Linked DNA regions of Homo sapiens: region 1 is linked to region 2. The links are contacts of gene promoters, found by promoter capture Hi-C in human tissues and cell types (Jung and others, 2019). All regions are on one chromosome and are shown on one strand. The core of a region is centred on a gene start or on the middle of the fragment in contact, and the rest is flanking DNA. Distances in the headings are between cores, read along the strand shown.

Region 1 (7,791 bases), core at 3,939-6,438, 190 kb before region 2:
TGTTATCCCTGTGGGATTTTAGTAGGAAAGTGTATTTGCTTTGACCATCTGTTTAACAAAATGATGTTCATTACATTAGAAGTGTATGTATTCATCTGGTTTAGTTTTGTAATTTAGAAGAGCTATTGATCTGATTCAAAGATAACCATTACCCATCTTTCCAAGGCCCATCTAAGTAGTACAGGTGTTTTGTCTTTTAAAATTGACAGTCCTCTTTGCATTAAGTCTGTAGGGGGGGAATACAATATAAATATTCTTCTGTGTAAACGTAAGAATGTGCTGTAATCTCCAGTTCCTTTGGATACCTCAGAATTCTATTTATTGTATACACTTATACTGTTTATTCAATGTTTTGGGTCTTACTCTTTTTGACGTATTCTCATCAGTCTTCACTCTAGTTTGCAAGCTCTGAAGTTATTGATTACGTCTAATGTGCAATTTGGCTTCTATTAAATGCTATTTTATGATGATGGCAATGAAGTGAACTTTTTAAAAAAAATACGTGGTTTTAGGTGGCAATCAGGTTAATTTTGAAGACTGTTAGGATTCTGGTTTAGAGACAGAGAGTGAAGGACTTCGTGCTACTTAATAAGGGAAGTAAAATCGCTTGCTCCCTGGAACTCAGCAGAAAATTCTGGGTCATTCTGGGAAGCTAGCGCTAGACCTCAATTTCCTTTCGTCTTTGCTGTACACAGAAGTACAGGGGCAAGGACCTCTGTCTTCACGGAGCAGCTACTGCCTGGCACGGGTTGCCACTTAAAGCTTGGATTCCGAGTAGCGGATGTGGTGAGTAGGACTCCCAGAAGACCTCGCGCGGCCTCAGGGAGATCCTGGGTCTCCAGCTTGGCCACCAACTGCACGGGTCAGCGGAAGTGTCAACGAGATGACTTGCGCTACAGCGGCACACTGGTGAGGAACCGGAAGCCACGAGCCGAGCCACTTCCGGTGCCCGCTTCCGGTAGCGCCTGCGCATTCCTGGGGCAAGTGGACTGTGGTGAACGGTGGAGATCCAGTGGTGGGGTTTGGCCATGTGCCTGGCCATATCCACTGCATATCGCTAGGTGATCTCCGTGTAAATCTAGCAGTACGGGTAAGAGTGTTTGCGGAGGAACTCCTCAGGTCTCTTCCTCCGCATCAGCAGGAGGGTATCATGGGTGTGACTGTCGGGCACTAACACGAATCTCCATCCCATGATTCTAGGCGTTAGGACTGGAGAAGCAGCTCCGGGCCACCGTCCCAGCTCTAATCTCACTTAGGCAATGCAGAGCTGTGGGCCTGACTACCACGTGTGTCTCTGGCTTGTTGAAATGGGCACTTTGTACATCTCACTTGTGCTGGGTAGAGTGTCTTTTCTTTAGAACCAGTACCAATCTCTTAGGCTTTTGGCATTCTCTGCAGCCAAATTCTAACATGCTTCTACTTAGCTGGAATGTACCCTCGGCTTACCTTTGGTAAATGGTATCTCCCCAGGTGAGCTTAGCCACTTCCATGGCTACAAAGACCTCATTTTAGGTCTAGCTCCAATTTCTTTTCTATGTACTCCAGATTCCTACATTCAGGTGCCTACAGGAGTCGTCTTTTAGATGTCTCTCAGGCATCAAAACACATGCCCTTAACTCATGCTTTTAGCCCCTGATCTGTTTGCCTCCAGTATGTGGGGCCACATCCATACAATTGCTCATGCTATCAACAAACACTCCCTCTTTCCTCTTGCTATGGCTTGAATATTTGTGTACCCTAAAAATTCATGTGTTGGAATTCTAACACTTAAACTGATGTTATTAGGAGGTGGGGACTTTGGCAGACCCCTCATGATTGGGATTAGTGTCCTTATAAAAGAGACTGCAGGCCGGGTGTGGTGGCTTACGTCTGTAATCCCAGTGCTTTGGGAGGCCAAGGTGTGAGAATTGCTTAAAGCCAGGAGTTCAAGACCGGCCTGGGAAACATAGCGACACGCCATCTTTTCAAAAAATTTATTTAGCCCGGTGTGGTGGCTGGTGCTTGTAGTCCTAGCTACTTGGGAGGCTGAGGCAGGAGGATTGCTTGAGCCCAGGAAGTTGAGGTTACAGTGAACTATGATTGGCCCACTGTACTCGAGCCTGTGAGGACCCAGCAAGAAGGTGCCATTGTGGAAATGGCCCTCACCAGACAATGAATCTGCCAGCACCTTGATCTGGGTTTCCTAGCCTCTAGAACTATGAGAAAAAAATTTCTGTTGTTTATAAACTACCTGGCTTATGGTAACTTTTTATAGAAGCCAGAACAGACTAAGACATCACATCCACTCAATCATCAAGTCTCATGGATTCTACCTCAAAAGTATCACCAAAACCTGAATGTTTCTGTCTCCCCTGTCCCCATCCTATCCAACAGTACTCACCTGGGTTACCTGAAAGAGCCCGCTGATGACTTTCATATCACACTTGTTCTCTGTCAACACAGCTAACACACTGCCATTTAATAAAAGAAGTATTAAAAAATGTTTGCTCCCTGAAACTCAGCAGAAAATTCCAGCATTATTGCGGGAAGACAACACTAGATGTTCATCTTTCCAGTCTTTGCTGCACAGAACTAGAGGGCCAGGTACCAGATGATTATGATGATTTCATCATCCAATTTGACACCTTCCATTGGCTTCCCATTGTCCTTAGGGACATTTAAATTTTCAACATGACCTTCCTAGTCATTACTTCCCTGCCAGTGTCAACTCCAGCTGTTCTTTTTCTCTTACCCCTCTCCAGCTACACTTTCTCTCAATTCATCAAACATACCAAGCTCTTTGAGAATTGTGCACATACTTTTCCTTTTACTTGGAACATCCCTTTCAATTCCTACATTCTTTGTTTTACCCTCCTTATAGCAATATGCTTGTAATTGAATATTAATTATGTAACTAATAAAATTTCATTGTCTCCATGGGAGGAGAGACCAGGAACATGGTAGATGCTTAAAATTATGCACTGATTGAAACTACTACGGCTCTGTCACTTTTATACCATTGGTTTCAGCTTAAAGACTGACAGAGGGCCGGGTGCAGTGGCTCATGCCTGTGATCCCAGCACTTTGGGAGGCCGAGGTGGGCAGATTACGAGGTCAGGAGTTCGAGACCAGCCTGGCCAATATGGTGAAACCCCATCTCTACTAAAAAAAATACAAAAATTAGCCGGGCATGGTGGTGCGCATCTGTAGTCGCAGCTAGTTGGGAGGCTGAGGCAGGAGAATCGCTTGAACCCAGGAGGCGGAAGTTGCAGTGAGCCGAGATTGTGCCACTGCACTCCAGCCTGGGCAACAGAGTGAGACTTTGTCAAAAAAAAAAAAAAAAAGAAAGGAGAATAGATACTGGTGCTGTCACTTACTAGTAGGCAAGAGGTGTAACAGTGTACCCAAAGAAGCTGTAAGGAGTTTAGAAAAAAACTAAGAAAGCTTCCAGGATAAATATATAATGATACCTTATAGGCTTGAAGGTAATAATTTAGCAAAGATGGCCGGTGCAGTGGCTCACACCTGTAATCCCAGCACTTTGGGAGGTCAAGGCAGGAGGATTACTTGAGGCCAGAAGTTCCAGACCAGCCTGGGCAACATAATAAGACCCATCTCTACCAAAAATTTAAAAATTAGGCCGGGCACAGTGGCTCACGCCTGTAATCCCAGCCCTTTGGGAGACCAAGGCAGGCAGATCACGGGGTCAAGAGATTGAGACCATCCTGGCCAACATGGTGAAACCCCATCTCTACTAAAAATACAAAACAAAAATAGCTGGTCATGGTGGCACGCACCTGTAGTCCCAGCTACTTGGGAGGCTGACACAGGAGAATTGCTTGAACCCAGGAGGTGGAGGTTGCAGTGAGCCAAGATCGCGCCACTGCACTCCAGCCTGGGGGACAAAGGGAGACTCTGTCTGAAAAAAAAAAAAAAAAAGCCGGGCGTAGTGGCACATGCCTGTAGTCCCAGCTACTCAGGAGGCTAAGGTGATAGGATCACTTGAGCCTGGGTGGAGGCTGTAGTGAGCTGTGATTGTTCCACCGTACTCACCCTGGGTGACAGAATGAGAACTCCCTCCCTGCCCAAAAAAAAAGTTTCATTTCACTGATTGGGCATCAACAAGATACAGAATGGGAGACTCCTGACTTTCTTTCCTTCCATGGATGCACTGAATAAGTATCTACACATGGATCAGTTCTCTCTGAGAGAAATATAGAAACTAGTTGAGACTCCCACACACTGGCAACTGATAATATATCCACATCAAAATGGATACCAACAAATTGAGACACAATGTAAACCAAAAACCTGGGCACAGTATCTTACAATTGGGAAGGAATCCCGAAATACCAGATTTTTGAAGAATGAAGGGTTGAGGCCAGACATATCGCTCCCAAACTTAAACAGTTTCCACGTGAGAGTTTGGCTCCTAAATCTTCTTATCCCGGGAATGGCAGGGTTTAGTATTTGTGAGTCCCCTGAGAAAAAAGGACATTTTATTTATTTATTTATTTATTTATTTATTTAGAGACAGAGTTTTGCTTTTTTCACCCAGGTTGTAGTGCAATGGCACAATATTGGCTTACTGCAACTTCCGCCTCCTGGGCTCAAGCGATTCTCCTGCCTTAGGCTATAGAGTAGGCGGGATTACAGGCGCACACCACCATGCCCAGCTAATTTTGTGGGGTTTTTTTTTTTTGTTTGTTTGTTTTTTTTGAGACAGAGTCTCTCTCTGTTGCCCAGGTTGGAGTGCAGTGGCGCAATCTCAACTCACTGCAACCTCTGCCTCCTGGGTTCAAGCGATTCTCCTGCCTCAGCCTCTCGAGTAGCTGGGACTACAGGCACTTGCCACCATGCCTGGCTAATTTTTTGTATTTTTAGTAGAGATGGGGTTTCACAGTGTTAGGATGGTCTCGATCTCCTGATCTTGTGATCCACCCGCCTCAGCCTCCCAAAGTGCTGGGATTACAGGTGTGAGCCACCATGCCCAGCCATAAGAGGACATTTTAAACAGGTATGTGAGCACTTTCAGCGGCTGTCCCCCAGGGTCAGTGCAGAGCAAGCAGGCAGAAATGCACCATCTGCTGGGCACCATGGCTCATGCCTGTAATCCCAGTGCTTTGAGATGCTGAGGCAGAGGATCACTTGAGGCCAGGAGTTTGAAAACAGCCTGGGGAACATACAAACACCCTGCCTCTACCAAAACAAAAAAAAATTTTTTTTAATTAGCCAGGTGTGGTGACATATGCCTATAGTCCTAGCTACTCAGGATGCTGAGGCAGGATGATCGCTTGAGCCCAAGATTCAGGGTTGCACTGAGCTATGATGGAGCCACTGCGTTACAGCCTAGGTGGCAGAGTGAGACCCTGTCTCTAAAAAAAAAGAAAAGAAACAAAAGAATTTAAAAAAGCAGTTCCACAGTCTCCCTAAAAGGGATTTATCTACACATTTTTCCCAACTGCTGCCTGAACGCTGGGCTTCTAAGTAGCCTACATCGAGTAGCTGATAGGGCTGGTAAACAATAGACCTCCAGGAGCATGAACAGGCATGTGGGAACTTCACTGTCGTTCTCCCCTCTGCCACTACTCCATTCAGAGATAAAACTAGGGGCCAGGCACGGTGGCTCACCCCTGTAATCCCAGCACTTTGGGTGGCCAAGGCAGGTGGATCAGTGGAGGTCAGGAGTTCAAGACCAGCCTGGTCAACATGGTGAAACCCTCTCTCTGTTAAAAAATACAAAAAGTTACCTGGGCATGGTTGGGGGTTGTCAGGGAGGTGCACCTGTAATCCCAGCTACTCCGGAGGCTGAGGCAGGAGAATGGCTTGAACTCAGGAGGCAGAGGTGGCAGTGAGCTGAGATTGTGCCACTCTACTTCTGCCTGGGTGACAGAGTGAGACTCTGTCTCAAAAATAAAACAACAAAACAAAAAAAAACTAGGCTTCTAGCTTCTTCCTGGACAGTGTACCCCAACTTTTACAGCTTCCACCCAAGGGACCAGCTTCTAAGCTCCTAAATCATCTGTCTCTGGGAATTGATAAGACTGCATTCACAAGTCCCCCTAGACTACAGAGAAGAAAAGTGATTTTAAAAGAGTGTTTGAGCAGTTCTAGCATCCGTTTCCCCTAACTCAGTACAAAGCGAGCAGACAAAAACACCCAGTTCCCAGTTTACCCCCAGGAAGGGGTTTGACTGCACACCTAACGTCCCAACTTTCCCAGCCGCTGTCCATGAGTCAGGCCTCTAGCCTATATCTGGGCACTGACAGGGCAGGCAATAAGTAGTCCTCTGGGAGCCTGAATGGGCATGCAGTTGCTTCCCGCAATTCCTTTTGCAGGCTCACTCTAGAGATGGAGCCAAGCCTCTGAACAATCCATCTGTCCTGGACAGTAGATGGGAGCTGCAATTGACTAGGCCCCTGGGGGTAACAACACATTAGGCAATGGGTTGAAAGAGTATGTGGTCTGAATGAGAATGCAGGCATTTGCTTGGGATTATCTCCCCAGCTTAGTACAGGGCAAGTGGGAGATCAACACCAGTTCCCAGCTTCTCCTTGAGGATAGAAGGAACTGGAACACATATAACACCCCAACTTTTCTAGCTAAATTTCAGTAACTGGCTTCAATATCACCAGTCTTGGGGCACTGATGGCATTTGGTGCACCCCAATCTCTTGGGGCTACTAAGAACAAAGACAGCAGTTTGTACAAGCACAAAAGTTTGAGAGGTGCCTAGAATCTGGTTGGGTTGATTGGTGAGGTTCATCTCCTACGAAAAATCAGATATTAAGACTTGGAAAGAGAGTTGTCTTATCTAATGCATGAAAATCAACACAGTCAACAAAAAAATCAAGAAATAGAAAATACGTTCCAAACAAAAGATGAAGAAATCTCCAGAAACCAATTCCAATGAAATACAGATCAGTGATTTTACCTATTAGAGAATTAAAAATAGGCTGGGTGCAGTGGCTCATGCCTGTAATCCTAGCACTGTGGGAGACCGAGGCGGGTGGATCACCTGAGGTCAGATGTTCGAGACTAGCCTGGCCAACATGGTGAAACCTCATCTCTACTAAAAATACAGAAATCAGCCAGGCGTGGTGGCGGGCACCTGTAATCCCAGCTACTCGGAAGGCTGAGACAGGAGAATCGCTTGAACCTGGGAGGTGGAGGTTGCAGTGAACCAAGATCGTGTCATTGCACTCCAGCCTAGGCAACAGAGCAAAACGTCCTCTCAAAAAAAAAAAAAGAGAATTAAAAATAATCATAAATATGCTCACTGATGTCAGGAGTATAATGTATGAACAAACCGAGACTTTCAACAAAGAGAAAATACAAAAACAAGGGTTGGCATGGTGGCTCACACTGTCATCCCAGCACTTTGGGAGGCCAAGGTGGGAGGATTGCTTGAGGTTAGGAGTTCAAGACCAGCCTGGTTTACATAGTAAGACCCCATGTCTACAAAAAATTAAAAATTAGCCTGGCATGGTGGCATACGCCTGTGGTCCCAGCTCCTCTGGGGGCTGAGGTGGGAGGATCACTTCAGCCTGGGATGCCAAGGCTGCAGTGAGCTGTTATCACACCACTGCACTCCAGCCTGGGTGACTGAGTGAGACCCTGTCTCAGAAAAAGGAGAAAATTTAAAAACATACCAAACAGAAGTTATAGATCTGAAGTACATAATAACTCATCTGAAAAATTCTCTAGAGGGTTTCACTCACAGACTAGGTCAAGCAGAAAAAAGAGTCAGTGAATTTGAAGACCAGCCATTGGAAATTATCCAACCAGAGGGGCAAAAATGAGAAAAAAAGAA
Region 2 (7,334 bases), core at 2,939-5,438:
TTCCTTCTAATCCTACTCCTTAGAGACAACCAATATTAACTCTCTTTCCCTCCCCCCCGGCCAACATTTCTAGAAAGCAACTGTTAACTCTTGTTATTGTATATTCCTCCAGTTAAAAAAAAAAAAAAAAAAGCCTAGGCTGGGGGCGGTGGCTCACACCTGTAATCCCAACACTTTGGGAGGCCGAGGCGGGCAGATCACGAGGTCAAGAGATCGAGACCATCCTGGCCAACATGGTGAAACCCCCGTCTCTAGTAAAAATACAAAAATTAGCTGGGTGTGGTGGCGGGCGCCGGTAGTCCCTGCTACTCAGGAGGCTGAGGCAGAAGAATTGCTTGAACCTGGGAGATGGAGGTTGCAGTGAGCCGAGACCACGCCACTGCACTCCAGCCTGGGCAACAGAGCAAGACTCCATCTCAAAAAAAAAAAGCCTAACATTTTATTTTTAAAACGACTTATTATACATACTGCTTTATAACTTGCCTTTTCACTTAAAGTATCTCTTTTCAATGGTTCTGTTGGCTTCCACTGTATAAACATATCATGATGTAACCTTTTTTTTTTTTTTTTTGGAGATGGAGTCTCCTTCTGTCACCCGAGCTGGAGTGCAGTGGCAGAATCTTGGCTCACTGCAACCTCCAACTCCCTGGTTCAAGCTATTCTCCTGCCTCAGCCTCCCAAGTAGCTGGGATTACAGGCGTGTACCTCTACACCCAGCTAATTTTTGTATTTTTAGTAGAGGCGGGGTTTCACCATGTTGGCCAGGATAGTCTTGATCTTCTGACCTCATGATCCGCCCACCTCGGCCTCCCAAAGTGCTGGGATTACAGGCGTGAGTTTTTCTTTAAAATGAGTTGAGAATTGACCATTACAAAGTTTATGAACAGTTTACTTCTTAAAATAGGAAGTGTCATATTGCCCTCTTAAATAATTGTATTAATTTGCTTTTAGAATACTGAATATTATTTTTGTAATTATTATTTTAAATTTCATTTCTTTAATTGTATGTGACAATAGCCATCTTTTCATGTTAAAAGGCATTTATAGAGATACATATTGTGTTTACACCCTTAATTTATGGTATCATTTCAAATCCATTTATGTCATTTATTTTACGGATTAGATTCTAAAAACAGGATTCCATCAAATTGTTTTAAAAAATCTTTTTCGTTCTTTTTTTTCCATCAAATTGTTTTAAAAAATCTTTATCGTTCTTTTTTTCCATCAAATTGTTTTAAAAAATCTTTATCGTTCTTTTTTCTTTTTTTTCCGCCCCCACAAGATGGAGTCTTGCTCTGTCACCCAGGCTGGAGTGCAGTGGCATGATCTCAGCTCACTGCAACCTCTGCCTCCCAGGTTCAAATGATTCTCCTGTCTCAGCCTCCTGAGTAGCTGGGATTATAGGCATGCATCACCACGCCCGGCTAATTTTGTATTTTTTAGTAGAGACGGGTTTCACTATGTTAGGCTGCTCTCGAACTCCTGACCTCAGATGATCTGCCCACCTCAGCCTCCAAAAGTGCTGGGATGAGCCACCATGCCCGGCCTATTGTTCTATTTTTTTTTAAGGTTTTATTATTTTTAGTTACCAAATTGACGTGCTCATTAAATGAAGTGACACAATAAAAAAAAAGTGTAATCTCTCCCTTTTCTCCATTTCCATTCCCTCCCTCTGAGTAACCATTTTATTTTTATTTTACGTATTTATTTAGAGACAGAGTCTTACTACTCTGTCGCCCAGGCTGGTGTGCCTGTCACTCAGGCTGGAGTGCAGTGGTGCGATCTTGGCTCACTGTAACGTCCACCTCCACCTCCTGGGTTCAAGCAATTCTTGTGCTTCAGCCTCCTCCCAAGTAGATGAGATTACAGGCACCCGCCACCACGCCCGGCTAATTTTTGTATTTTTAGTACAGATGGGGTTTCCCCATGTTGGCCAGGCTGGTCTTGAACTCCTAACCTCCAGTGATCAGCCCACCTCTGGCTTCCCAAAGTGCTGGGATTACAGGCATGAGCCACTGCGCCTGGCCATCCCATGAGTAACCATTTTAATAATCTATTGTGTATCCCTCAACACAAACATACACAAGGTGTTTTGTTTGTTCCAAAAATATAATTATGCATAATATATGTAGCTCTGAAACTTTTTCATGTAATATTTTATGGCCATCCCTCCAGGTGTACATATAGTTCCAATCCATTCTTTTTCATAGCTGGGTAATTTCCAGAGTATGAATGCACCAATTTACTCCTTTCCTTACGTATGAACATGCATGTCATTTCTAGTTTTTGTCACTACAAAGAATTCTACAAGAAATTTGTAGACATCAGATTCACAGATGAGATTGTGAAGGTCAAAGGGTACATACTTGTACTTTTAATTTTAATATATATTACAAGATGACTTCACACACCACACTACCAGCGAAAGGAGTGCCTATTTCTCCACCTTCATTGTTTGATAGGTGAAAAATGTGGTTCCCTTTAAAAGTGATAATCTTGACTAGTAGTGTGGTTAAGCATCTTTTTAAATGTTAATGACCAATTAGTTTTCCTCCTCTCGGGAAGAGCTCCTCATTGCCTTTGCTTTTTGTCAGTTGGCAGGGGTTCATTTTGTCTTAGGAATGTATAATCTTTTGTGTAGCTAATCTTTACAATTATCTTCCAGTCTATTTCTTGTTTGTTAACAGAGTCAAGAAAAAGTTCTTAAAAAATACAATCACACAGGTTTATATTTTACTTCAAGACATCTCAGTTATCTGTTTTGCCTCATAATTCAAACCATAATGCTTTGATTAACGGAGGCTTTTTAGTAAATTTTGATCTGAAAAGGCAGATATTCCTTATTTTTCTAGAATGTCTTGGTGCCACACAGTTTTCATACTCGTTTCTTTGTAACATATTTTAAGCCATCGTCAGCCATTAGTCAGGTATAATTAACTTTAAGAAGAGGCATTCATTTATATTTTTACTTTTGTCAACTTTCTGGAGGCTGGTATTACATCGAGAAATAAGGCCATCCCTGCCCACAAGTTGTCCGAACCCTGATCAGTGCGTCACTGGGGAACGAACCGAGTGTGGATACAACGCACAAACACAAAACTCTGTTCGGCCTCCGTAGGAAGCTGAAATTGAGAAAGGAAACCGAGACAGTAGGAGAAGGGCAATTAAGATGTCTTTAAAAACAAGACGGCCGGTGCGGACAGCAGTGTAGAAGTTAGCAAGCTGGAGTGGGCAATGTCGGTGCCCCATCTCTAACCTATGGGAGTCACCAGAGCGGGGGCGGAGTCCCATGGCGGCCACACCCTGTCCGCCTCCGCAGTCTTTTTACTGGAGAACCGCAGTAAAAGGCGGAAACCGCGGAGGCGTCTTGATTTTCCGGTCGGAGAGATAGCTTGCTTCCTTTAAGCCTCGGGGTAGGGGGGTGGGGAGGGTAGGGGGGTGGGGAGGGTAGGGGGGTGGGGAGGGTAGGGGGGTGGGGGGGTGGGGAGGGTAGGGGGTGGGGGGGTGGGGAGAGTAGGGGGGTGGGGAGAGTAGGGGGGTGGGGAGAGTAGGGGGTGGGGGGGTGGGGAGAGTAGGGGGGTGGGGAGAGTAGGGGGTGGGGAGAGTAGGGGGGTGGGGAGAGTAGGGGGGTGGGGAGAGTAGGGGGGTGGGGGTTGGGGGGTGGCGCCGTGGGGGGTGGCGGGGTGGGGGGTGGGGGGTGGGGAGAGTAGGGGGGTGGGGGGTGGGGAGAGTAGGGCGGTGGGGGAGTGGCGGGGTAGGGGGGTGGCGGGGTGGGGGGTGGGGGGAGCGCGGGCGCTGGGTGGGCGGGGGGTGGGGCGGTGGGGGGGCCTGCCCCGCCCCAACCGCCGCGCCTGACGGTCGTCCATTGGTTGTTTGCATTCGAACTACATTTCCCAGCAGGCCCTGGGGTTAGACTGGCCGCAGCTGGAGAGGTGCCAGCCCGTCGTGGATGACTAGAGCCAACCACCTGCCTTCCGTCTTCCAGGCAGAACCACAGAGAGGCTACAGCCGTCCTGGCCTCCCTCCGGCCCTGAGAGCTCCTCTGGCCTGTCTCAAGTCTTAACGTCTCAAGCGCAGACTGCCGGCTCCGAACGGGGAGACCAGGCTTCTGCACCGGAAACAAGGCACCGGTTGTGACGTCACAGCCGCAGAGCGCCCGACTTCCCAGAAGGCACCGAGTCCCTGCCGTTCTCCTCAACTGGCGGCGGCGCGAACGAATAGTCGCCGGCGACCTGTGAGGGCACTCGGAAGGGCGAGGGGAGGGCTCGACCGCTCGCGCCTAGTTTTTCTATCTCTCCCGGAGCCTGAGTCTCTGAGCCGTCCCCAGCAAACGCTCAGGGGCTGCAGAGGCCCCGAGAGGTGAGGGGCTCCGTGAGGGCGGGAACCAGGCTGAGGCCGCCTCTGGGGAGCGGAGCGTGTCCGTTGCTGAGGGAGCAAGGCCGGGTAGGGAGCCTGGTGAGCGCCTCAGGCAGGGGCGCACGCTGAGCTTTACGGTAAAGGTGTTCCTTGACCAGCGGAAGAGGCCCCAGAGTGAGCCTGGCCCGGCGGTCCTTAGTGGGATGTCGCCTGCCGCTCTCAGCAGAGCTTTGACGGCGGAGAGGAGTCGGCAGGCGGTGTGTGGACACCTCCTCGGCCTTGCATCTGCTCCCCGGGAGAGTCACCAACCGCCTCCCCGCCCAAAGGGCACCGGAGGGAGCTTCGGTTCGAGGGGTACAGTATGGCCAGATTCAGTGACCAACCTGCTTTTAGGCAGATGTCCTCGGTATTGACCCCAGATTTCCTGTCTTCTAGCCCATTGCTCTTTCTCCAAGCCTGATTTAACCTATTCCTGGTGGGTTTTACACACCGTCTTTCTTTCTGTCTTTTCTTTCTTTTTCCTTTTATTTTCTTTCTCTTCCCTGATTCCCTTCCTCCTTCTTTCCTTTCTCTTTTCCTTTCTTTTTTTAGAGTCAGGGTCTTGCTTTGTCGCTCAGACTGCAGTGCAGTGGCGCGATCACAGTTCACTGCAGCCTCGACCTCCTGGGCACAAGCAATCCTCCCAGCTCCCCAGTAGCTGGGACCACAGGCTTGTGTCGCCACGCCCAGCTAATTTTTTTTTTTTTTATGGAGTCGGTGTCTTGCTGTGTTGCCCAGGCTGGTCTTGAACTCCTGGACTCAAGCGATCCACCCGCCAGGGCCTTCCAAAGTGCTGGGATTACAGGTGTGAGCCACCGGTACCTGGCCACACTTTGTATTTCTCAGGAGGCTGGACCTTGGCCTTCTCCGCTCCACCCTTACTCCCTTCCCTTTGGACTTGAGGTTTGCACAGTCTCTGTTTTTCATTCTCAGGATCTTCCTTTCACATCTTCCTAAGCATATCTTGTTCAAATACTGCGTTTCAGTTATGATTTCCCTATCCCAGCTGTCGTTTTCTTTAGATCTCATGTAGCCTCACCAGCCATGCCACATATTGGAGTGCAGTAATGCCGTGCCTGGTCTTTTGGGTAATCCCTGGTTTCTCTGTCTACAGCTTGGCTCTCTGGCAGATTTCCTCTAGTAAGAGGTGGCTCTGGAGGCCCCGCGAAACGAGTGTGGTGTGTGGTTGCAAGGCATGATGGCTGCAAAAGTGGTTCCTATGCCCCCAAAGCCAAAGCAGTCCTTTATACTGAGAGTTCCGCCAGACTCCAAGCTGGGCCAAGACCTACTTCGAGATGCCACTAACGGGCCCAAGACCATCCACCAGCTAGTGCTGGAGCACTTCCTCACCTTCTTGCCCAAGCCAAGCCTGGTCCAGCCCAGTCAGAAAGTCAAGGAGACCTTGGTTATTATGAAAGATGTGAGCTCAAGCCTTCAGAACAGAGGTGAGAAGCACATGCTTGTTTCACTAGAAGAGGAGGAGGAGGTACTGGAGTCTAAGATAGGTTTCTGTGTTAGTTATAAATTCAAGTTAGGATGGTGTATATTGGAAAAGGAGTCAATTCTAGTGTTGGAAAGAGGAAGTTCTTCTCAAGTGCTGGGTGTGAGTAAGGCCACAGAATAAACAGTGTGCATCTTTCTGTAGTGTCAGTTTTACCCAAACATTCTGAGGGAAATATCTTTTAAGGATAAATCAGATGAATTATTGAGTTAGGTTGATGTGGAATTTTAGAAATTTTGTGCTTTTTCTGGGCATCTTCACACTTTACGTTGCCCTAAGCTCTCCTTTAGTAATACTCTATGGGAAATTCTGAAAGGTGCTTAGAGAAGTCATTCTTTTCATAACAGGGAGATGCCATAGGTTCAAGACCCTAGAGTTTATGGCTTGAACTCTATAAGGGCTCACAGGAGCAGAAAAGGCCATGAGTTACCTGTCAAAGGAATGAGGACAGCCTGGCCTCGCGGTATGGGGAGTCTCTGTGTTAGAGTCACTGAGTTTTTCACTAACTAAACCTTCCTCTTTCCCCAGTGCATCCTCGTCCCTTGGTGAAGCTTCTGCCCAAAGGAGTCCAAAAGGAACAAGAGACAGTGTCTCTGTATTTGAAAGCTAACCCTGAGGTGGGTTTGGTTTTCCCATTTACTGCCTGAATCCATCACCTTCCGTGCTTGGCCAACCTGTGTGTAAAAACACATTCTTAGGAGTTGGCCTTCTTGGGTGTTTTTCTTCTGCTTTTTCCTTGAGCCCTTCTCAGCCTGGCTGTCCTGTCTTTGCTGCACCTCTGTGGGATTTATAGGTCCCTCTTGCTATCCCTTCCCTTGATCTTTGTGTGTCAGCTTTTCTTACCAGTAGGGCTGTCAGTGAACCTCAGTTACTAAGATGAAAGGGGCCTCTTGCTCTTTCAGGAGCTGGTGGTCTTTGAGGATTTGAATGTATTTCACTGCCAGGAAGAATGTGTGAGCTTGGATCCTACTCAACAACTCACGTCAGAGAAGGAAGATGACAGCAGTGTCGGGGAAATGATGTTACTGGGTAAGAAATCACAGCCTTTGTGTGTTCAGGTTGTTTGCTTTGGGAAAAGCATGTCCTTCATCTCTTTAGCTTTGGGGGACGATTCACACCTGGTAAGCCTATGTGCACACACACATTTTATTTTACTTTTGTTTTATTCAATGTAGCAGAGCCTTGCCACAGAACTCCAGCTGTGGGTGGGTGGCCATTTTTCCCTGTATCTTGGGGGCAGTGAGGGGAGAGGTAGGGAAAACCTGCAGACATAGAAACTGTGGATATAGAAACTGTTCTGAACCCATTTTCTGAACTCTGTTCTCAACAGGTATATTTGAATGTTTTCATTGAACACATGACTAACTCTTGTAATCCCCCTCCCCTTTTTGATGTTCAATAGATGTGAAGACTACTAGCCTAAGTGAAAATATATTCC

What was found. The method cuts DNA at HindIII sites, captures the fragments that hold promoters and counts their contacts. A contact is called where the count stands out against the background at its distance.
Region 1: a fragment that was not itself captured here is called in contact with the fragment with the promoter of ZNF200 in region 2 in 2 of the 25 tissues and cell types used here (IMR-90 fibroblasts and small bowel).

The regions. Positions count from the first base shown.
Region 1 is chr16:3,425,099-3,432,889 of GRCh38, reverse strand. ZNF597 (zinc finger protein 597) reads left to right here. Exons shown (of 4, transcript NM_152457.3): 4 at 1-476. Among named protein-coding and RNA genes, the nearest start is that of ZNF597, 15 kb to the left of the region's middle. RefSeq lists a silencer at 692-741 and enhancers at 1,002-1,171, 938-1,439. The HindIII fragment of the contact is 6,189 bases long and covers 2,094-7,791 here.
Region 2 is chr16:3,232,012-3,239,345 of GRCh38, reverse strand. It overlaps ZNF200 (zinc finger protein 200), which reads left to right and starts at 4,188. Exons shown (of 5, transcript NM_198088.3): 1 at 4,188-4,359; 2 at 5,510-5,840; 3 at 6,425-6,513; 4 at 6,799-6,925. The coding sequence starts at 5,591. RefSeq lists enhancers at 3,870-4,079, 4,090-4,149. The HindIII fragment of the contact is 11,744 bases long and covers 1-7,334 here.